5 separate regions of the Homo sapiens genome follow, and all the other regions are linked to region 4. The links are contacts of gene promoters, found by promoter capture Hi-C in human tissues and cell types (Jung and others, 2019). All regions are on one chromosome and are shown on one strand. Each heading gives the region's core, a stretch centred on a gene start or on the middle of the fragment in contact. The rest is flanking DNA. Distances are from core to core; before and after follow the strand shown.

The links. Contacts are between HindIII fragments. The study calls those that stand out against the background at their distance.
Region 1: a contact is called between a fragment that was not itself captured here and the fragment with the promoter of MAGI3 in region 4, in 1 of the 25 tissues and cell types used here (H1 embryonic stem cells).
Region 2: a fragment that was not itself captured here is called in contact with the fragment with the promoter of MAGI3 in region 4 in 1 of the 25 tissues and cell types used here (hippocampus).
Region 3: a fragment that was not itself captured here is called in contact with the fragment with the promoter of MAGI3 in region 4 in 1 of the 25 tissues and cell types used here (hippocampus).
Region 5: a fragment that was not itself captured here is called in contact with the fragment with the promoter of MAGI3 in region 4 in 1 of the 25 tissues and cell types used here (thymus).

What each region holds. Positions count from the first base shown.
Region 1 is chr1:113,152,519-113,156,938 of GRCh38, reverse strand. No RefSeq gene overlaps it. Among named protein-coding and RNA genes, the nearest start is that of LRIG2, 82 kb to the right of the region's middle. The HindIII fragment of the contact is 7,078 bases long and covers 1-4,420 here.
Region 2 is chr1:113,607,291-113,611,686 of GRCh38, reverse strand. All of the region lies in intron 6 of MAGI3 (membrane associated guanylate kinase, WW and PDZ domain containing 3), which reads right to left. Among named protein-coding and RNA genes, the nearest start is that of PHTF1, 150 kb to the left of the region's middle. The HindIII fragment of the contact is 7,685 bases long and covers 1-4,396 here.
Region 3 is chr1:113,544,737-113,549,006 of GRCh38, reverse strand. All of the region lies in intron 1 of MAGI3 (membrane associated guanylate kinase, WW and PDZ domain containing 3), which reads right to left. Among named protein-coding and RNA genes, the nearest start is that of MAGI3, 160 kb to the right of the region's middle. The HindIII fragment of the contact is 4,969 bases long and covers 1-4,015 here.
Region 4 is chr1:113,389,171-113,393,225 of GRCh38, reverse strand. MAGI3 (membrane associated guanylate kinase, WW and PDZ domain containing 3) reads right to left here and starts at 2,711. Exons shown (of 21, transcript NM_001142782.2): 1 at 1,877-2,711. The coding sequence starts at 2,192. RefSeq lists enhancers at 1,666-1,715, 1,766-2,265 and silencers at 1,946-2,105, 2,166-2,295, 2,706-3,065, 3,096-3,145. The HindIII fragment of the contact is 4,324 bases long and covers 93-4,055 here.
Region 5 is chr1:113,214,484-113,218,798 of GRCh38, reverse strand. No RefSeq gene overlaps it. Among named protein-coding and RNA genes, the nearest start is that of LRIG2, 140 kb to the right of the region's middle. The HindIII fragment of the contact is 3,324 bases long and covers 1-3,077 here.

The DNA of each region.
Region 1 (4,420 bases), core at 711-3,210, 240 kb after region 4:
GGCCAACATGGCGAAACCCTGTTTCTACTAAAAATACAGAAATTGGCTGGGTGTAGTGGTGCGCACCTGAAATCCCAGTTACTTGGGGGGCTGAGGCAGGAGAATTGCTCAAACCTGGGAGGCAGAGGTTGTAGTGAGCCAAGATCGCACCACTGCACTCCAGCCTGGGTGACAGAGCAAGACTCTGTCTTGAAAAAATAAAAAAACAAAAACAGAATAAGGAAAAAAGTCATAGACTGGGAGAAAATGTTTACAAAAGACACATCAGATAAAAGAACGTAATTCAAAACTTACAAAGAACCCTTAAAACTCAACAATTAAAAAAAAAACAATTTAAACATGGGCAACAGACCTGAACAGACACTTTACCAAAGAAGATATACAGGTGGCAAGTAAGCATATAAAAAATGCTCAAACCAGGTGTGGTGGCACATGCTGTTATAGTTTGAATATTTGTCCCACCTAGATCTCATGTTGAATTGTAATCCCCAATGCTGGAGGTGGGGCCTGGTGGGAGGTGTTTGGATCATAGGGGTGGATCCCTCTTGGCTTGGTGCTGTCTTTGTAATAGTGAGTTCTCATAAGATCTGGTCATTTAAAAATGTGTGGCACCTCCCCAATCACTCACTCTCTCTCTCTTGCTCCTGCTCTGACCATGTGATGTGCCTGGTCCCCCTTTACCTTTCACCATGATTGTAAACTTCTTGAGGCCTCCCCAGATGCTGAGCAGATGCCAGCACCATGCTTCCTGTAAAGCTTGCAGAACTGTGAGCCAATTAAACCTCTTATCTTTATAAATTACCTAGCCTCAGGTATTTCTTTATAGCAATGCAAGAATGGCCTAACACGTGTCTATAGTTCCAGCTACTCAGAGGCTGAGGCAGGAGGATTGCTTGAGGCCAAGAGCTCAAGGCTACAGTGCACTGTGATTGTACCTGTGAATACTGTGAATAGCCACTGCACTACAGCCTGGGCAACACAATGATATTCTGTCTCTAAAGAAAAAAGGGAAGGAAGATGCTCAACAAGGGCATATTTTCATATGCCATTCAAAAATTACAAATTAAAACATAAACAGATAGCATTACACACTTATTAGAATGGCCAACCAAAACACTGACAACATGAAATGCTTATGGGAATGTAAAATGGTACAGCCACTTTGAAAGACAGTTTGGGCTGGGCACAGTGGCTCACGCCTGTAATCCCAGCACTTTGGGAGGCCGAGGCGAGAGGATCACCTGAGGTCAGGAGTTCAAGACCAGCCTGGCCAACGTGGTGAAACCCTGTCTCTACTGAAAATACAAAAATTTGCTGGGTGTGGTAGTACATGCCTGCAATCCCAGCCACTTGGGAGGCTGAGGCAGGAGAATTGTTTGAACCCAGGAGGCAGAGGTTGCAGTGAGCCAAGATCGTGCCACTGTACTACAGCCCAAAAAAAAAAAAGACAGTTTGGCAGTTTTGTACAAAACTAAACATAATCTTACCATATGATCCAGCATTTTGTACTCTGTGATATTTACCCAAAGGAGTTGAAAACTTAAGTACACACAAAACATGCACACAGGTATTTATAGCAGCTTTATTATGATTGTCAAAACTTGGAACCATCTAAGATGTTCTTCAGTAGGTGAATGGATAAACTGTGGTGCATCCAAACAATGGAATATTACTCAGCATTAAAAAGAAATAAACTATCAAGCCATGAAAGGACATGAAGGAAAGTTAAATGCATATTACTAGGTGAAAGAAGCCAATCTGAAAAGGCTACATTCTCTATTATTCCAACTATATGACATTCTGTAAAAGGCAAAACTATGGAGACAATAAAAAGATTAGTGGCTGCCAGAGGTGAGAGGAAGAAGGGGATGAACAGACAGAGCATAGAGGATTCTTAGGGCAGAGAAACGGCTCTGTATGATAACACAGTGGTGGATACATGTCGTTACACTTTCGTCAAAACCCACAGAGTGTACAACACCAAGAGTGAACCCTAATGTAAACTATGAACCTTGGTTGATAATGATGTGCCAATGTAGGTTCATAGATTGTAACAAATGGACCACCCTGGGGCAGAATGTTGATAGTGGGGGAGGTTGTCCGTGTGTGGGGATGGGGGACATGGGACATTTCTGTACTTTCCATTTAATTTTGCTGTGATGTAAAAACTGCTCTAAAAATGTTTATTAATTGAAAGAAATGAAGGAAAAGGCCAACAATGAAAAGAAAGTTTTTCTCTTCCCTATCCCTAAGTGACCCAGTTTCTTCTCCTGCCACCCTCAAGTCACTCACTGTGACCAGTTTCTTGAGTATTCTTTAAAGATATCCTTGGTATTTACATATATGGCCATGTTCTTTTGATACCACAGTTGCCTCCCTTAGGGAAAAAGAATGTTTGGAGTTAACCTGAGGGAACAATTCCTTCCCTCAACCCTCTGTATGCTTCCTTTAAATTTTTGAAGCTCAGATACCAAATGGAATATAATGGAGTATGTTTTTATGTTTCCTGGGAGTTGGTGAGGTGTACTGAAGAGCCTGGCATCTAACATCTGTTGGGACTAAGTTCAAATTCATACCTACGGTGGGTGACTTCACCTTTCTGAACCATTTCCACCTCTGAAAAATGGAGGTAATCATCCCTACCTCCAAGGGCTGCTGTGAGGATAAAATAAGAGAATGAGGGGGAAACATCTGCCACCCTCCTTCCTTTCCCTCCTACAGTTTCTCCAATGCTTTTTAAGAATAGAGAGAAAAGGAAAAGCAAATTCCCAAAATCTACACGCTGTGTAATGATTAGCTTTGACCTAATTCTACTTCAAAATGTTTCCTTCTCTTACCCCCCACTACCTCCCACCCAGATGCCTAGTATAAAGAACTCATGAAAACTTAGGCCAGATGGGAACCTGGAATATTAAAGCCTTTGAGAAAACATCTGTTTGTTCATTTATTACCATGTTTTTGCTTCTGTCTTGTTTGGTCATAAGAGCCTATGGGGAAGTCCTTTGCACTTTAGTCTATACAGGGCTCTTATATCCTTCATTTTACTTCGCAACTCTGTGAAAAAAGGAGAAAACTGAGGTTCAGAAATCAAATGCTTCGGCTAAGAGGCATCTGGCAGAAACGGGGCTAGACCCAAGTTCTTCTCACTGGTTTCCTTGCCTTTTTCTATCTCTAGTTGGCTTTCATGCGTAATCGCTACTGCATCAGTTAGGATGCATTTGGCTGCAAGCAAGAGAAAATCCAAGTCACCCTGGCTCATGTAACTGGAAATCCACAGATTCTGTGGCTTCAGAATGAGCTTAAGGCAGTGGCTCTGCTCTCTTCTCTGCTCCTCCCTTGCTTTCTCCCTCCTCTCTGTGTTGGCTTTTTCCCCCTCATAATCTGGCCCTGCTGTATTACATTTGTCTTTTTGTTAGGTATCCAGCATTCCCCCGAATTCCAACTTCAAATTGTTGCCTTAATTTCTCTTTTGGAGAAATTGTCACTTGTGTAATGCCTCCCTTATGCTGTGGGGCTGAAGTGGTCAGATCATTCATCTCCCTGGCCCCCAGCTTGTGGGGAGAAGGGGAGTGATTCACAGCCTTGGCCAATTGGAGGCTCTCTGCTAGACTTTGAATCTTGGACAAGAGCCAGAAGGGCAGGCTGCAACAGTGCCCAGGCCCAGGCATTTCTATGGGGCGGTGCTGCTTGCAGCTCCATTGCCTGACCACTGAAGTCCTTCTGGCTCTTGCCCCATTTTCCAGGCCCAGCTCTTCAGCTTCTCCCTTGTGGATTCTGGAAGCCTCCACTATTCTGCCAGTAAATTTCCTCTTTGTTCAAGACGGCCAGAGACATTTTCTATTGCTTGCCATCAAGAACCCCAATCATACCATGTACCCAGCAATTCCACTCCTAGGTAGGTACCCAAGAGAAATGACAGCATATCTCCATATAAAATTTTGTACACCAGTGTTCATAGCAGCATTCCTCGTGATGGCAAAAACAAACAAACCACGTGTCCATTAACTGATACATGGGTAAATAAAATGTGGTAGGCTGCAGGTGGTGGCTCACGCCTGTAATCCCAGCACTTTGGGAGGCTGAGGCAGGCAGATCACCTGAGGTGGGGAGTTCAAGACCAGCCTGACCAAAATGGAGAAACCCTGTCTCTACTAAAAATACAAAATTAGCCAGGCGTGGTGGCGCATGCCTGTAATCCCAGCTATTTGGGAGACTGAGGCAGGAGAATTGCTTGAACCCAGGAGGCGGGGGTTGTGGTGAGCCAAGATCACACCATTGCACTCCAGCCTGGGCAACAAGAGTGAAACTCCATCTCAAAAAAAAAAAAAAAAAAAAAATTAAAATTAAATGTGCTATATTCATACAGTGGAATATTATTCTTCCATAATTAAGAAATGAAGTACTGGCCGGGCTCAGTGGC
Region 2 (4,396 bases), core at 727-3,226, 220 kb before region 4:
TTTGAAAAAGATTATGGGAAGCAGTAATAAAGGACGAAATAGATGGTGTGCAATGAGAATAAAGGCAGACAAATAAGATAAACACTAATAGACTGCATAAGAACTTGTGAAGACTGGAACTAAGGCAGGGGTAGTAGAATGGATAATAAAACAAAGAAGGTAAAGTAACAGAACTTAATGACTACCATGAGGATTGAGGAAGGGAAGGGAGGAAAGAGGCAAAGATGATTCCCAGGTTTCTAGCTTTTGTGGCATAAAAGTGATACATTATCAAATATTTATTGAATAATTATGAAAATGGGCCGGCACGGTGACTCACGCCTGTAATCCCAGCACTTTGGGAGGCCAATGTGGGCAGATCATTTGAGGTCAGGAGTTCAAGACCAGCCTGAGCAACATGGTGAAACCCCTATCTCTACTAAAAATACAAAAATTAGCTGGGCGTGGTGGTAGGTTCCTGTAATCTCAGCTACTCAGGAGGCTGAGGCAGGAGAATTGCTCGAACCTAGGAAGTGGAGGTTGCAGTGAGCTGAGATCTCATCACTGCACTCCAGCCTGGGCAACAGTGTGAGAGTCTGTCTCAAAAAAAAAAAAAAAAGAATAATTATGAAAATGGCTGTGGGAATAGAAATTAGAAATTAATGTGGATTTAGAGGAATTTAGGAGACAGATGATATATTAAAAGTGCCTAGTAATGTGTCTACCACCAATGGACACTCAAGAAATGGCAGGTTTTTATTTTTTATTTTTTTTTGAGATGGAGTCTTCCTCTGTCGCCAGGCTAGAGTGCAATGGCATGATCTCAGCTCACTGCAACCTCCGCCTCCCCAGTTCAAGTGATTCCCCTGCCTCAGTCTCCCGGGTAGCTAGAACTAAAGGTGCGTGCCACCATGCCCAGCTAATTTTTTGTATTTTAGTAGACAGGGTTTTACCATGTTGGCCAGGATGGTCTTGGTCTCCTGACCTCGTGATCCACCCGAATGGCAGGTTTTTAAAAGTTAGAATTGATAGAACTTGGTAGTTAACTGCAACAGAGAGGAGACAGTGAGGGAAAGGCGAGGATGACAACCAGTTTTTGGCTCAAGCAGCTGGGGGGATGTCATATCTGTTGAAGGCAGGAAGGGAAGGTGTTACATTTGAGTGATCTGTAGAACATCCTGGTACAGATAAATAACAAGCTCTTGGCCGTATGAACCCGGTACTCCAAAGAGAAATATAAGAAGATAAAGATTTGAGAGACATTGTAGTTAAAGCTATGACAGCAGACATGATTACCTAGATAAACTGAGCAGAGAAAGGTGAAGAACAGAACCTTAGGAGCACTAACATTTTAAGCGGCAGATGGAGAAAGTAAGAATCATCAGGGGGAATGGTGTAAAAGAAGACAGAAGAGGAAGGGCATGGTCAGCATTAAAAAACGCTTTGTTGGGGAGGCTGAGGCAGGAGAATGGCATGAACCCAGGAGGCGGAGCTTGCAGTGAGCCGAGATCGCGCCACTGCACTCTAGCCTGGGCAACAGTGCAAGACTCTGTCTCAAAACAAACAAACAAACAAACAAACAAAAAAACGCTTTGTAAAGCTGTTAGGCATAAAGATAAGGGCTAAAAAGAGTCTATAAGATCAGGAGGTTACTGGTAACCCTGAAAAGGTAGGAGGCAAAAGTCAGAATACTGTAGTAACTGAAGAGAAAAATACGAAGTAGAGTCCTTAAGAATAGATGACTTAAAACAAAAATTTGCTTGTGGAAAAGATAGTATAAAAACTATGGGGAGGGTTAGGGCCAAGAGAAAATTTGTTTGTTTATTTTTGATACAGGAAAGACCTAACCTAACCATCTTTTCCTGTGTATGAAGCCAAAGTATTCCCCTAAAAAGCTATTTCAAAAGACAAAACTATTTTGGGCATATCAAGCAGCTGGTTGGTTCTAAATCCCATGAATTTATCTTTCTTTCCTCTTCCCCAAATAGGATTTTTCTTGTTTAAATGTAAGAATTACAATTATTTTCTCATGGTGGAGCTCTATTCAGTTGATAATTTTTTTAATCATTCTCTAAGCTCTGAAATATCAACATTCAATATATTTGTAAGCTGCCTTTAGCAAAAATTTAATCTTTCTTTCATCATAAGAGAAATGGGATGGGTTGAGGGTAAAACGAATTCCTAATGTTGTATTTTCAAGACAACTACCTAACCAAAACACTATTTTATTTGAATAGAAGATAAAATGTACATCAATTAAACCAAGCTGTTCAAGCTGTGTCCTTACACTGTATTTGAATACACAGCTGTGTTCAGAATATCAGAAGACTGGGAAGAAAAGGGCATGTTTTAGAAACTGTAAGGTCTTTCTAGAAGATCTTAAATGTTCAGCAGAATGTAAACAATATCTTAACCTATAAAACCTACACTTAAAATATTATTCTTCTCTTTTCAGCATCTACTCTGTGCAAAGCACTGCAGAGAATACTAATATGAATCACACATAGTTCATCCTGAAAATAGTCTTCCGTGGGGCTATTACGTGGGGAGACAAAGTGTAGAGAGGAAAGTGGAAAAGGCTGGCTGAGCATAAAACAAATAGACTCAATGTTCTAAATTGTAGGCTCCCCCGAAGATAAGTATAGGCAATGTTAAAAAGGTGTACCCAGTTTTGTAAGTGGGAGAGTAGCCCATATTAAAGAGTTTCAAACATTCCCAGAATACTGAATGCAATTTTGATCATTCTATTTTAAGAAAAATATACTTAGGATGATCATAAAATGTACTGTCCACTTTTGAGAATAAAAGGGGATACTATTAATAATTATGTTGGGGCAACAGGAAAAAGCTGGATCAGTCCTGGGCCAACCAAGACATATGTTCAGCCTTAATGTAAAGAGCATTAGGGGGAAATGTTCATCCAATTCTTCAAATTCCTTAGAGAATAAAGAATGGGAGGAACATTTCCAGTTTCTCGGAGCCCCTTCACTTTCTTCCCCAAGGAAGAAAGAATGTCTTATCTGACTGGGGAGTTTTACACAATGAACTCAATATGCTTGGCTCAGGGACTCTTGAGTTCTCTCACTGTTTTGGTTAACAGCCTGCCTGCAGAGGCGTATTCTGGTCTGTTCTCTGCCATGTCTGCCCGTTGGGAGGAGGCTTGCAGTTGAACACAGAGGCCAAAGACTAAGTACTCATGTCTCCCTCCTGCAGGGGTAAAATAACAGCAAGGCCATGTACATGCAGGGCTAACATTCATTTGCTGACATTCTGACTTCATCTGTCTGTCTCTGGTGTCTTATTTCTCTATTGACTATAAACTGGTGAATGAAGACGGGCTTATTATTTATTGGCCCCTCAGAGCCTTATAGAGATTGAAAAGTATTTCCAAAAGGGCGACCAAAATAATCTGGAGGATAGAGTAGCTTCTTTCTTTTTTTCCCTTTCTCTTCCTTTTCCCTTCTTCCCTCCCTCCCTCTCTTCCCTCTTTCCCTCTTTTCAAACATTGAAGTCTCTACTGAAAGGATATACAGATGAATGTGTCAAAAATCATTGCTCTGAGTGTGGTATCTAGTTACAATGCAATATAACTGCTACAAGAGAGACATGTCATATGGTACTACTGAGCACAGAGGAGAGGACGTCTACTTCTGACTTGCAAGAAAATGACAGAAGGGGCTACAAAGAAATTATACTTTAGATTGGAGCTTCGAAGGATAATAGGTATGAGCCAGGTAGACACAGGAAACAAGACTGATTCCTGGCAGAAGAAATGGGTATATGGCAAAGACGAAAAATATGTCAGATTTATGACATGAGAATACTTTGAAAAATAAATATAGAATATGATTCAATTATAAAAAATCTTTAATACTTAACCAAGGAGTCTGGACTTTACTCTGCTGACAATGGACAGCAAGGGAGAGATAGATAGAAAATTAGTTTTAGAAAGATTAATTTGGTCTTACATAATATCTCCAAGGTTTTTTGATCATGTAGCCTTTTTAGTAAAAAATCTGACATCTGCCCCTCTTCTAATATGTATATAATAAAACATATACAAAAATAGATGTTTTTAAAGGAGGTGATTAAACAAGCAATTATCATGATTTTACCTTGAAGTTGAAAAAAGCTTATATATGGTCATATATGATACACAAACAGTATCGGTTCTTCCATTTTCTTGCTATTAGTCTGGGTTTGCCTATTTGTATCATCTTCAATCAGTAGTGTTTTTGTAGAAATCTTTTAAAGTGACATTTCCATTTTATGTGAGGTTAGTTTAAAAACTATATAACTAGTCTATAAATCCACTTAACTGGGCACAAATCAACTGTAAAATTTCACAGTGTCCTTGAAAAAAGAGCAAAGGTGTCTCATCCATTCCTCCCTCAAGGCACTCTGGTTAGAGTATGTG
Region 3 (4,270 bases), core at 282-2,781, 160 kb before region 4:
AGGCACCATCAACTTGCAAAACAATCTCGAAATCTAGAAGTCATCCTTGATTTCTCCTTTTCACTTCTACCCATCCAGATCCAACACATTAGCAACTTTTGTCGGTTCTACTTCCAAGACATATTTGACTTTTCTTCATTTCATTTGCCACCACCCTAATCTAAGCCACCACTGATTCCTCATCTGGAATTCTGTCCCAGCCTTCTAATCGGCATCATTCTTGTCTCCTTCCTGCTGCCCACCACTTAGAAGCCAGAGTGAGATTTAAAACATAAATCTGATAATTACTACTCTGTTTAGGGTCCCCTCAGATATCTTATACTTGCAACAAAATCTAAAATCCCGAACAGGGACTAGAAGGCCCTACATGTTCTGGCTCCAGCCATCCCTGATCCTAATTTGGTCACTCTTCCCACTGTCAAACACTGCTCCACCTATTCTTGGCCATCTTTCTGATCTTCGAAAAGGCCAAACTGGCCCTACCTTAGGGTCCTCTTCCTATCACTAGATTGAACAGGCATTTTCTGTCCACTTGCTTGACTCCTAGATACAATGTGAATAATTAAGAAAGTCAAAAATTTTCTATTATTTGTGGGGAAAATGGGAAATAAATAGAGAGATATAAGGGCTCTCAAAGAAATATTAAGCAGAAAAAACAGGATTGCAGAAATCTGATAGCAATGAATTTATAGTAAGGGTTGAACTTAAAATGAAACTCCAAACAGTCCAAACCATTGTTCATTAGACAAGGCTTCAGATAATTAGAAAAAATCAATGCTAAGGCAAAATAGATTATTTTATTGAATAAGAACAGTTGATTAAAGTATACTCTTTTATTTAGAGCAACGCACTTATGACAAGCTTAGATAAACCAAATACTATTGATCAGCTAATTTTTTTAACTATTATTCCACAATATTACATTTCTAACTCCCTCTTTTGCTCTTCTCATATGTATAAATGAACATAACCTATGCAAGACGGTGTTAACATAAGCAGGAAATCAGTGTATGTCAAAAGTTCAGCAAACATATTCAGATCCTAAACTAATAAACACAAACCCTAAAAAGTCCTTCTTTTGTCTTGCTAAAAATAGATGCTGAGCAAGGGGGAGCCTTTGTGATTTTAATAAACCTGAAAGATATTTACCAGGATGAACACAGAAGAATCTCTGGTCCCAGAGGTTGTTTCTATTAAGCATTTAGGGATCCCACTAACCCAAGCCTTATTTAGATAAAAATAATATTATTTCATTTTTTAAATGTATAATACAGAATCATACAGTATACTATTCATCACCGGATAGAATAAAATGCTAATTTATAATCAATACTGTATAGTCTCATTACTTATTGAACAAAAATATACCAAATAATGAATTCATTAAGTATTTTTAAAATCAGGTAAGAGATGTCTCAAATGTTTTGTAAATGTTATACAAAAGTTTTCGTAGATCGCTATATAGTTGTCTAAAGGTGTTTTGTGATATTTGGGGAAGTTTGGTTAGGGTTTTTGAATGGACAGAGAATGCATCATTGTTTTTTCCCCCACTTAAAAACAACATAATGTAGGCTCCGACATCTAAATATCTGCTATACAACATATTTTCAGAAAAAGACTTAATTTGGATAAAAGATAATACATGAATAATTTAAAAAGACAATCTGACTCAATACTTTGTTTTATTAACTCACGATTTCCTTTTTTTTTTAAATTTGAAGCTTTACTGTCAGATATGGTATAACGTACAAAGATAACTATAAAATGCTAAAAACTCAGATTGCATTTTAATCTATAAAATAACAACCATTAAATTAGATATAATTAAGGACAAAGCCACAATAAAATCATAAATTACAGCATAATGGGTCTCTTAAGGCAAAATAATTGAAACAACTCAATTCTTGCTTTTTTTTTTTTTTTTTAGATGGAGTCTCACTCTGTCGCCCAGGTTGGAGTGCAGTGGCACAATCTTGGCTCACTGCAACCTCCGCCTCCTGGGTTCACGCCATTCTCCTGCCTCAGCCTCCCGAGTAGTTGGGACTACAGGCGCCCGCCACCATGCCTGGCTAATTTTTTGTGTTTTTTAGTAGAGACGGGGCTTCACCGTATTAGCCAGGTTGGCCTCGATCTCCTGACCTCATGATCTGCCCACCTCGGCCTCCCAAAGTGCTAGGATTACAGGCATGAGCCACTGTGCCTGGCCTCAATTCTTGTTTTAAGGGCCTACAAGATCTTAAGACTCAGAGGCCAAGGCTGGAATTGCACTCTGTTTTTCACCGTTCATTTCTACTGGGATTCTGGATGTAACACCGAGACGAACAGTTGTAAAGAAAAGTGTGAGGGACAATTTTGTAAGTGTGATATTTTGGCTGGGTGCGGTGGCTCATGCCTGTAATCCCAGCACTTTGGGAGGCCGAGGCAGTTGGATTACTTGAGGTCAGGAGATCGAGACCAGCCTAGCCAACATGATTAAACCCCATCTCTACTAAAAATACAAAAATTAGCAGGGTGTGGTGGTATGTGCCTGTAATCCCAAATACTCCAGAGGCTGAGGCAGGAGAATCGCTTGAACCTGGGAGGCAGAGGTCGCAGTGAGACAAGATCGTGCGGCTGCACTTCAGCCTGGGCAACAGAGTGGGACTCTGTCTCAAAAATAAGCAAATAAATAAATGTGATATTTTATGTAAACATCTGCAAGTATTCAAAAAAGTTATCACACTTTTTTGAGGCTAGAAACAAAATATTACAAGCATCAAAGAAATATCAATTATGAAAGTTTAATAAGTTAACTATGGACTTGCATTCTCTAAAAGTAACAATTAATTAAAAAATATATTGGATGTAGCAGCCATCATGGACTGCCAAAAGAACTTCCTAAGTGAACAAAATATATGGTTCTCTCTTTGATATGATTCCAGGGAATTTGTATTTTTTTAAAAAATATGTAAATATCTTGAACAGGCAGCTGACTGTGGGATTACCAGAAGGCCAACAGACACATTAACTCAGAAAGACACTGCTGAATATATCTGTATTATCAATTTGTATATGAACATCTGCCTTTTGTTTAGGGATAGTTCACAGGAATGACATTTCAAGGGTATGAAAAACATCCAAGTGAGCTTACTATAGTTGTTACTGAACAAAGAAAAGATTCTTCATAACGTTAGCATTCTTAACATAGCCAGACTTTGCTCTAAATGCTAATATTACGCCTTGGCTTCTAAGTAATTTATAAGTCAAGGTTACATATGTAAATTAAAAACAGATTTATATATCTTACAAATACAGCTTGGTTGCAAAAAAGTCCCTAACAGAAACCTCAATCATGAATAAATCCAGGAACTCAAGTTTCAACATACAAATCCTTAAAAAAACTCGTTAACTACAAATCCATACTTTCTGAATATATGCAAATTAATGTTCACCACCAGTTCTCTGTGAGGAACCAGTATATAAAGTAACTATTATTTAACTAAACGCTGGGCATGCGGGCATGGCAATGGCCAGGCAAGCAGCTGTAAATCAATCTAATTACAATCTAATTTCATCATGTTTCCACAAGGATAGTTAAGGAAACACTGTCAACCACTTGGCGAAAGTCAAGATACAACATGTCTTTACTATTCTCTAATCCAATAGCAATTATACAACTAAAAATAAAGCAAAAAAAAAATGAGGTCATTTTGGCATGTCTTATTCTTATAAATTCATATTGATTCATGGTGATCATCCCATTCTCTTCTAAACACAATATTTCATTTTTTTACAATCTCTTCAAATTTTACCACAGTTTAAAGTAGGGAATTGGTCTTGGGTTTTTGCAATATACTTTATTCCTTTTTGGAAACTAGGACATTTGTCTCTCTCTTGTCTCCAAGTATTTACCCCATATTCTCAGTGATTTTGTAAAAAAAAAACAAAACAAAACAAACAAACAAAAAACTATATTTTGTTAAAAAAAAAAAAGTGACAATAACCCTACGATTATACCTGAGTCCGTCAACTCCTGGGAGGCAATACATTTCAGTATTGAAAATTTAAATTCATTTAAAGTGAATGATACTCCATCTTCTCATATTTTTTGTTTGTTTGTTTAATTTCCTCTGTTTCAGGTTGTTTGTTTTACCTTTTACTATAGGAAAAGGATTTCTGCTATTGCAAGATTATAGAAGCAAAGTAAGAATTGTATAGGTCTGATTTTTACCTGTAAACAGACATTAAGAATATCTTCTTCAGACAGTGAGCTATCTCTTCCCTCTTGTTG
Region 4 (4,055 bases), core at 1,462-3,961:
TACGGGGGCATAGGATGTTTATTCAACACAGTTAATATTACTAATGCTCTAAATCTTGAATTATTGTTAAATATAATATAGAGGTTGAGAAAAATGTATAACAGGTAGATTAGACTAATGTTATGAAATAGCCATCTCTTCAGTCTTCTAAAAAAGATCACAATAATTTAGAATACACCAGCTTCCATGTCAATATATCAACTTTAAAATTTCTAAAAATAAGTTATATTCTCATCTATGCCCTAACGAATCAAAACAAAACACAAAGAAATGATGCAGATGTTCTCACTATTCACTAACTCATGGGATTTGAACTAAGATTTGGCAGCTAGACTAGTAAATGCTGTCTATATAGCCTTTTGCATATTACAGACAGTGCCTGACTAGCTGAATTACAGCCCCAAAAGTCTTTCCTCTGCCTTTCACACATGGCTGTAAAAGTTAGAGTTAAGAAAAAAATTTACAAATTCTCAAAACTATACAGAAAAAGCTGTTTAAAGTCTGCCAAAGTTTTAAAAAATTAACAACAATAAAAAGAAAACCTCACCACATAAACCCATACACTTAAAATGAATACGATGGAATACGCTATAGAAAGAAAATCTTAATTATGACCTTAGGAGCATGTGAGTCTGTGTGTATACATATCCACAATACACAGACATATGTAAACTGCACCACAAACCATCAAGCCCCATTAAGCTCAAGGACTATTAAAGATATATTAATATTTCCAAAGCGAGCTGCTGAGAAAGAAATGAGAAGGAGATAACATATTAAATTTTTATCCAGAATTTTCTAGCATTTTGCCATCAAGGGATGGACTGCTACCTAGCCCAGGTAACAATTAACCAGCCCATTATATTTTGATGCACCGTATACTCAGCAGAGCACATTAAGGAAAAACAGTTTGGTTTCTAATAATGTTACAATCACAATTCTCTCTCCCACAAACATCTAAGACGACAGAACCACATTCTATCTATGCTGAAACAAAACCAACAATGCTGTCTATAACAAATTCATAAGAACTACTACATACTATCAGATCTCACTGTATGCTGTCTCTGATCAATGCTTTGAAACTGACGAGTATGCCATAAACATAACGTGCTTTGCAGCAATTTTTACTAGCATAAAAGATACCAGGGCAACAGAGGCTCCTTTAACCTACCACTTCAACAAAATTCTGTAAAATCAAAAGCGTTACAGAAGCTTTCACTCCGCTAGGCACCTAGGTCTTCCTGCAAAACCCAGACTCTATTCAACAGCTCCCTGCAAGAACACACCAGTCTGCCACATATCACATATTGTACCGTCATCGGTACTCAGACACCTGAACCACCTGGACTGACAGAGTTAGGCTGTCAGCTCTGAGATGTCTGCTAGAGTGCAAGAAACACTGAAGCAGCTAAGCCCTTCCAGGTACACCAGGTGGTAACCTTGGCACCAAGTGCCTCTATAGTAAAGTCCCTTTTTCCCTGTTAGAAGATGCGTAAGATCGTTCCAAAGAAAATGTTACAATCCTAAGGGCCTTTTTGCACAACACAGGAAAAGGCTGGCCTTCTCTAGTCAAAAACTCTTGTCTGCGGGGGGAGATGGAGCTACAAATGTAGGAAACCCAGCTTCTAGTCGCAATTCTGTGACAGCTAGCACAGCTAGCAGAGCAACCGCGCCAAGCCAGAGCTCAGTTTTCCCTTCGGCAAAATGGGACTCACCAACGCCACCCCTCCCCCTCGTCAAGGAGTCTGGCACACCCTAGAGGTCTAAGATTACCCGGGACAATACGCGGTGGGGAGGTGCCGCCGCTCCCAGGACGCCCACCCTGAAGCCCCTCTCCCCAACACCCCGAGACAGATACGCAGGGCCGGCGTACCTGGTTTCACAGTCTTGAGACGGATGGGCTCGCGGAAGTGGCGGATGACAGCCAGGGTGTCCCGGTTGGTGAGCCCGCTGACAGGCGTCCCGTTTACCTCCAGCAGCACATCGCCTGGGCTGGGCGCCTTGCCCGAGACGACGCAGCAGGTGCCCCCGCCGGGCTCCTCGCGGAGCCGCCCCAGGTAGGGGAACTCGCCACGCTCCGCGCCACCGCGGATCTCCGCGCCGAAGTCGCCCGGGGGCCCGGCCCAGGACACGGCGCACTCCTGCACCTTGCTGAGCCAGTGCTTCTTCTTCTTCAGCGTCTTCGACATCCCGAACCCCGCTGCACCATGGGGGAGACCCCGCGCGGGCGGCCGGGGCGCCGCTCCGGCCCCGTCTCAGCCCGGGGGCCCTGGGCGGCCCGCGCAGCCCGGTAAGGGGGGCCTCGCCGCTCCGGCCCCCACCCCGCGACCACAGCCCGCTGGGGGCCCGGCCGTTCCCAGACGCGAGACGCCCCTTGGACGCCCCTCCCGGCTGCGCTCCCCGGGGCTGACCGGACTCCGCGAGGGCCACCGCGGGTTAGGCTGAAGAAAGGAAAAGGGAATTGTCCCCAGGAGGTTCCAGAAGGGGCTTCGGGCGGGGTCACTGCCGCCGGCTGGTCCCTGGGCTCAGCGCCCGAGCGGCGGGAAAGGCTGAGGCGGGGGGGCGGGGAGGTGAAGGGGGAAGAGCCGGGAACGGGAAAAATCCGTGGGGGGCGCGCAGAAGCGCGCGTAGACCCGTCGCGGGATCGATCGTGGCCGCTGCGGAGCTGTAGCGCGGAGACCAACGCCTGCCCAAGCTGCCAGGAAACTGCCGCTTTCAAACCAGCCGCAACCTCCTCCTCCTCCCTTTTCCCTTCCCCCGGCCCTCGCCCATCCCTCATCCAGAGCCCCGCCCCCTCCCGCCGCGCGGCGCCCGGCGCGCTGCCGTCACAGGCTGGGCGCTTGGGAACGAGCCCCGGCCCTGGACTCTCGCGCCAGGGATTGGCCCCCGGCGGGCAGGAGGCGGACCGCCAACGAGAATGGGGACCACTGGTTGGTCGGTGCGAGTGGAGGAGGCGGGCACTAGAATGACTGAAGTTTAGAGAGGGTGGAAAAAAGAAGTTTGGAGAGTGAGGGAGGGCGCAGAGGAGGGGCAGGGGAGTGGAAGGGGCTGTAGGTCGCAGGGCCGGGAGAGGCCCTCTGCGCGGCGGCTGGAGCCGAGGAAAACTCGAATCCGAGAGGGACCGAGCTCCCCGAAGTGGGGGCGTGGCCGGCGAGTTAGGCGGAGACGCGGGCGGAGCCTCTGAGCCTGTGCGGGGCGCAGAGAGGGGCCGGTGTGCTTAGATTGGAAGACAACGTGCGGAGTCCTGAGCCGGCCGAGGTTCCGGGGCCTTTAGGGTGGCCTGTTACAGCCGATAGTTTGCATTGAGTGGATATTGCTTGTTCATTCGTTCATTCAACAGATGTTACTGAACGCCCATTGAGGCAGGGCTTCGGAGTCCGGTTGATGAAAGATATTATAAAATAGAGTCCGGCACTGCTGTATGACCTAAGACAAATTAGACAACCTCTCTGAGCCGCAGCGTCCTCAGTGAAAAGTGAAGATTACAGAAGATGTACAAAATAACTGCATAGTGCCTGACAGTGGGTGGTTGCCTCTTAAAGTTTGGTAGCTGCTGCTGCTGCTGCTGATGACGATGACGATTTTGTGTTAGATATTGTGCTAGGTACTGGGATTCAAGGGTGAAGAAAACAGAAGCCCCGCTATTGAGGAGGTTACAGTCTAGTGGGAGAGACTGAGAAGTAAGCAGACTGCCTGAGGTGAGGGAGTGGGGTGGAGGTAGAAGGTGGATTATTAAGAACTAACCTGGTAGCCAGCAGATCTGGTTGGAGTCCTGACATGCTACTTACTTGCTGTTTGACCTTGGCCAAATCTCAGTTAAAGGAGGTGAAGGGAGAACGAACATTAAATAAAAGATATCGTAGATCCCTTCCAGCTCTAATTTTTCAGAAATTTCACTTGAGCTTTCTCTCTTCCCCGGCTTGACTTACACTCTTCCCTGTCTTTGGAATGCCCTTCATCTCATCTCTTTTAAAACTCCTATCCGTCCTCATCCCAAATGCCGGCTCTTCCAGGTAGCTTTCTCTGATTTCTTGCCCTCAAGTGGAAAGTGT
Region 5 (4,315 bases), core at 166-2,665, 170 kb after region 4:
CTGCACGCCCTTGTTTCCAAACGATTGCTCATGCTGTTCCCTGTGCTTGAAATGCCTTCCCCCATTTCTGTGTGTAGAAGTCTTTAACGGCTCCTCCATAAAGTTTTCAGACACCCCCTGACCATTATGATCTGCTCATACCTCTAAATTAGCAATAATACTTCCCTCCATGTGTGCATGAGACCTCGTGTGCTCCATTCGAGTTGGTTTCAATTGTGATCTCATTTCATTTCACACATTTAAAAACATTATTCTGAGAAGGGGTCTATACTTCTGATTTCCAATGACACCAAAAAGATTAAGAATCCCTGACCTAGCTTGTGTTTAATATTTCAGGAGGGTGGAGACCATGTTATAGTCCCTTTTCGCCCTCTACCTTTAACACTGCCTAGCATAGTTTGTTGACTTGAACTTGCCAGTGTGGGGGACGGTCCCCACAACCAGTTGTGACAGTGAGTCCCACGGATCCGGCTGCTCATGGCTGGTAGAGTCCAATTAATAAGGAGTTCTGGCGGAAAGAAAGTGACTTTTATTCCAGAGCTTAGCTGAGAGGAAGAAGTACAGGCTCCTGCCTTAAGGGTATTACTTCAGCTTTCAGGGCAGAAAGCAGGGGCTTTTAAAGGGGGACTTGGAGTCAACCTCATGTAGGAGGTAGGGGAGGAGGTGTGGGGCCCATGTGACTTGCTTCCTGGGTCTTATCTATCAAGTGGTCTGGCTAGCACCATTGTGGGCAGGGCCCTGTTGTAAATTGACAATTTTAATTTTATCTAGGGCAAAATTTAGGTTGTAAATTAACTGTTATCTTGAGGCAATCTCCTGGCGAGAGAGAGTTCCAGAAGTGCCTGCTGTGTTTCAAGGTTCAGCCTCCAGAACTTCTAAGTAAACACATAGTTAGATAAGCTTGCCGTGTAGGGAGTGTCTGGTGGAGAGAAGGTAAAGGTTATAATTGCATTCCTAAAGAGCTAAGTAGGAGGTGGGGGAAAAGGAAAAAGGTTAAGAAAATCCATTTTTTTCTTTTAAAAATGTGGTAATCAGTTACACTCATGCAGCATGCACTGCTCAGGAAGGCAGCGTGTCCCTCATCAAGGCCCAGGGTCACTTTGATTTTGCGTGTGCTGCTCTGTTGACCAGGCCCTGGACTGGCCTTGAGCCTCCTGTGCTCCTGACCCAGACATGGCCACATCATGCTGGGATCCAGCAGTGAGCATGCACGCAGCTCCTCAAGGTCACACAGAGGCTCCGTCTCGGGGCTTAGGATCTCAAACACTAAATACAGTTTCAGCTGAATTTCCTTTTGACTAATTTGTCTTCTTTAGTATCCAAAGAGGAAAATCAGGCCCATTGTTCTGCTCTTAATAAAATAAAATTCAATCTGCAGAAGCAGAAGAAAGCTGGTGGTGTCTGCTCAGATATGCAAGCCTGCTTTTCTCTGAAATTGATTGATAGTTACACATACAAACATGATATCACTTTTATGTCACTAGAAATTCCTATTATCCATTTTACCCCTCCTTGAGGGTTTTTAGTAGTTGGTGGTTTGCAGTTAGAGATGTTCTAGGAAAACCGCAGAGATCTGACTAATGAAATGCAGGAAGACAGAGCCAAGAGGGAAGGGGAAGGGGACAACTGTTTTTCAGCAATTGCTGTGATCCAGACCCTGCATTAGGTATGCTACAAAGCTTCTTTCATTTTTTCTCCTAACAACCCTCTGGGTTGGGTATGATGATCTTCACTTTACAATTGGTAAAGCTATGCTTCAGAAAGGGTAATCAATGTCCATGGCCACACAGCTAGAGGAACAGGGCCAGGTTTGAACTCAGCTTTGTCTCACTGGAAAGCCTGTGCATTTCCCAGTCTTCAGGCAGCCACAGGTGAGGCCAGCTTGGAGCTTGACCTCCTCTCTGGAGTGACGATGTTTGGCCCTTGCAGCTGAGGCTGTCTGTGTGTCCGTAGCCCCTGGTGCTGCCCGACCTAGCACAGTCCTTGATAACTGGTGAAATGTCCAGCTACTTTGCTGATAGTAAATGAGCAAACAGGCAAAGCAAATGCCAAGAAACTCCAGAGCAGGCAGCAGGGCTCAGCAGCACCTCCAGAATTATAAAGGACAGGATGTCAGAGTTTCTGAAATCCCCAAATTATTGGTTGTCTTTGCTCCTTGGTCCTACTGTTCCCCTTTCACCACCATCTTCTCTACCCTCTCCTCTGAACATCCTCACAGTGGCTTCCTCTTCTTTTATTCTCATAAAAGCCTGCCCCCAGCAGAGGATTGCATACACCAATTCTCCCTGACTCTCATAAGACCTAGACCATCCCTTCCAGAGATTCTCTGTTTTCCAGGAGACAAAGAGTCTTATGCCTAAGGAATAACTTTGTGACTGTGGAATTCTTTGAAGGTAATGGGGTAGGTCATCTGAAGGAAGGTATGGGAAAAGGAGAGGGATGGAATGTCTTCCCCATGAAGCCACCAAAATTCCACTGGATGGACAGTTGCTAATATAGTTTGGATATTTGTCCCCACCCAAATCTCATGTTGAATTGTAATCCCCAATGCCGGAGGTGGGGCCTGGTGGGAGGTGTTTGGGTCATGGAGGTGGGTTCCTCATGGCTTGGTGCTGTCTTCATGATAGTGAGTTCTCATGAGATTTGGTCATTTAAAAGTGTATGGCACCTCCCCGTCACTCTCTTTTGCTTACTCCTGCTTTTGTCATGTGATGTGCCTGGTCCCACTTCGCCATGACTGTAAGCTTCCTGAGGCCTCCCTAGAAGCTAAGTCAGCACCATGCTTCCTGTAAAGCCTGCAGAGCTGTGAGCCAATTAAACCTCTTTTCTTTATAAATTAGCCAGTCTCAGATAGTTCTTCATAGCAATCAAGAATGGACTAATACAGAAAATTCATACTGAGGAGTAGGGCATTGCCATACAGATATCAGAAAATGTGGAAGCAGCTTTGGAACTGGGTAATGGACAAAGGTTGGAAGAGTTTGGAAGGCTCAGAAGACAGGAAGATAAGGGAAAGTTTGAAACTTCTTATAGACTGGTTAAATGGTTGTGACCAAAATGCTGATAGTGATATGGACAGTGAAGTCCAGGCTTTTGAGGCCTCAGATGAAAACAAGGAACTTACTGGGAACTGTAGCAAAAGCTCATGTATTATGCTTTAGCAAAGAGCTTGGCTGCATTCTGTTTATGCCCTAAGGATCTGTGGAAGTTTGAACTAAAGAGTGATGATCTAGAGTATCTGGCAGAAGAAATGTCTAAGCAGCAAAGTGTTCAAGAAGTGGCATAGCTGCTTCTAACAGCCTACACTTCAATGCAGGAACAAAAAAATGACTTAAAGTTGGAAATTAAATAGGAAGCAGAGTGTAAAAGTTTAGAAAATTATCTGGCCATGTAGCAGAGAAAGAAAAAGCTTTTTAGGGAGAGGAATTCAAGCTGGCTGTGGAGCAACCACTCGCTAGAGAAATTTGCATAACTAGAAGGGAGCTAAGTGCTAATAATCGAAGACAATGGGGAAATGGCCACAGAGGCATTTCAGAGACCTTCAGGGCAGCCTCTCCCATCACAGGCCCAGAGGCCTAGGGTGAAAGAATGGTTGTGGGGGCAGGCCCAGAGCCCCAGTGCCTGAGGCAGTCTTAGGACGACCTGGGCAGCCTTGGGACACTGCTGCCTGCATCACCCTCTCCAGCTCCAGCTTTGCTCAAAGGGCCCCAGATACAGCTCAGGCTGCTGCTTCAGAGGACACAAGCTATAAGCCTTGGCAGCTTCCATGTAGTGTTAAGCCTGCAGGCATACAGAATGCAAAAGTGAAGGAAGTGTGAGAGCCTACACCTAGATTTCAGAGGACATACGGAAAAGACTGCGTATTCAGGCAGAAGCCTGCTGCAGGGGCAGAGACCTCATAGAGAGCCTCTACTAGGGCAGTGTGGAGGGGAAATATGAGGTTGGAGACTCCACACAGCTTCCCCACTGGGTCAGTGCCTAGTGGAGCTGTGAAAAAGGGGCCACCATCCTCCAGATCCAAGAATAGTAGATTCACTGGTAGCTTGTACCTGCACCTTGAAGAGAGGCAGTCATTCAACTCCAGCCTGTGAGAGCAGCTGCAGGACCTGAACTCTGCAAAGCCATAGGAGCAGAGCTGCCCAAGGCCTTGCACCAGTGTGCACTGAATGTCGGGCATGGAGTCAAAGGAGATTATTTTGGACATTTAAGATTTAATGACTGCCCTGCTAAATTTTGAACTTGCATAGGGCCTGTAGCCCCTTTCTTTCTGGCAATTTCTCACTTTTGGAATGGCAATGTTTACCCAATGCCTGTA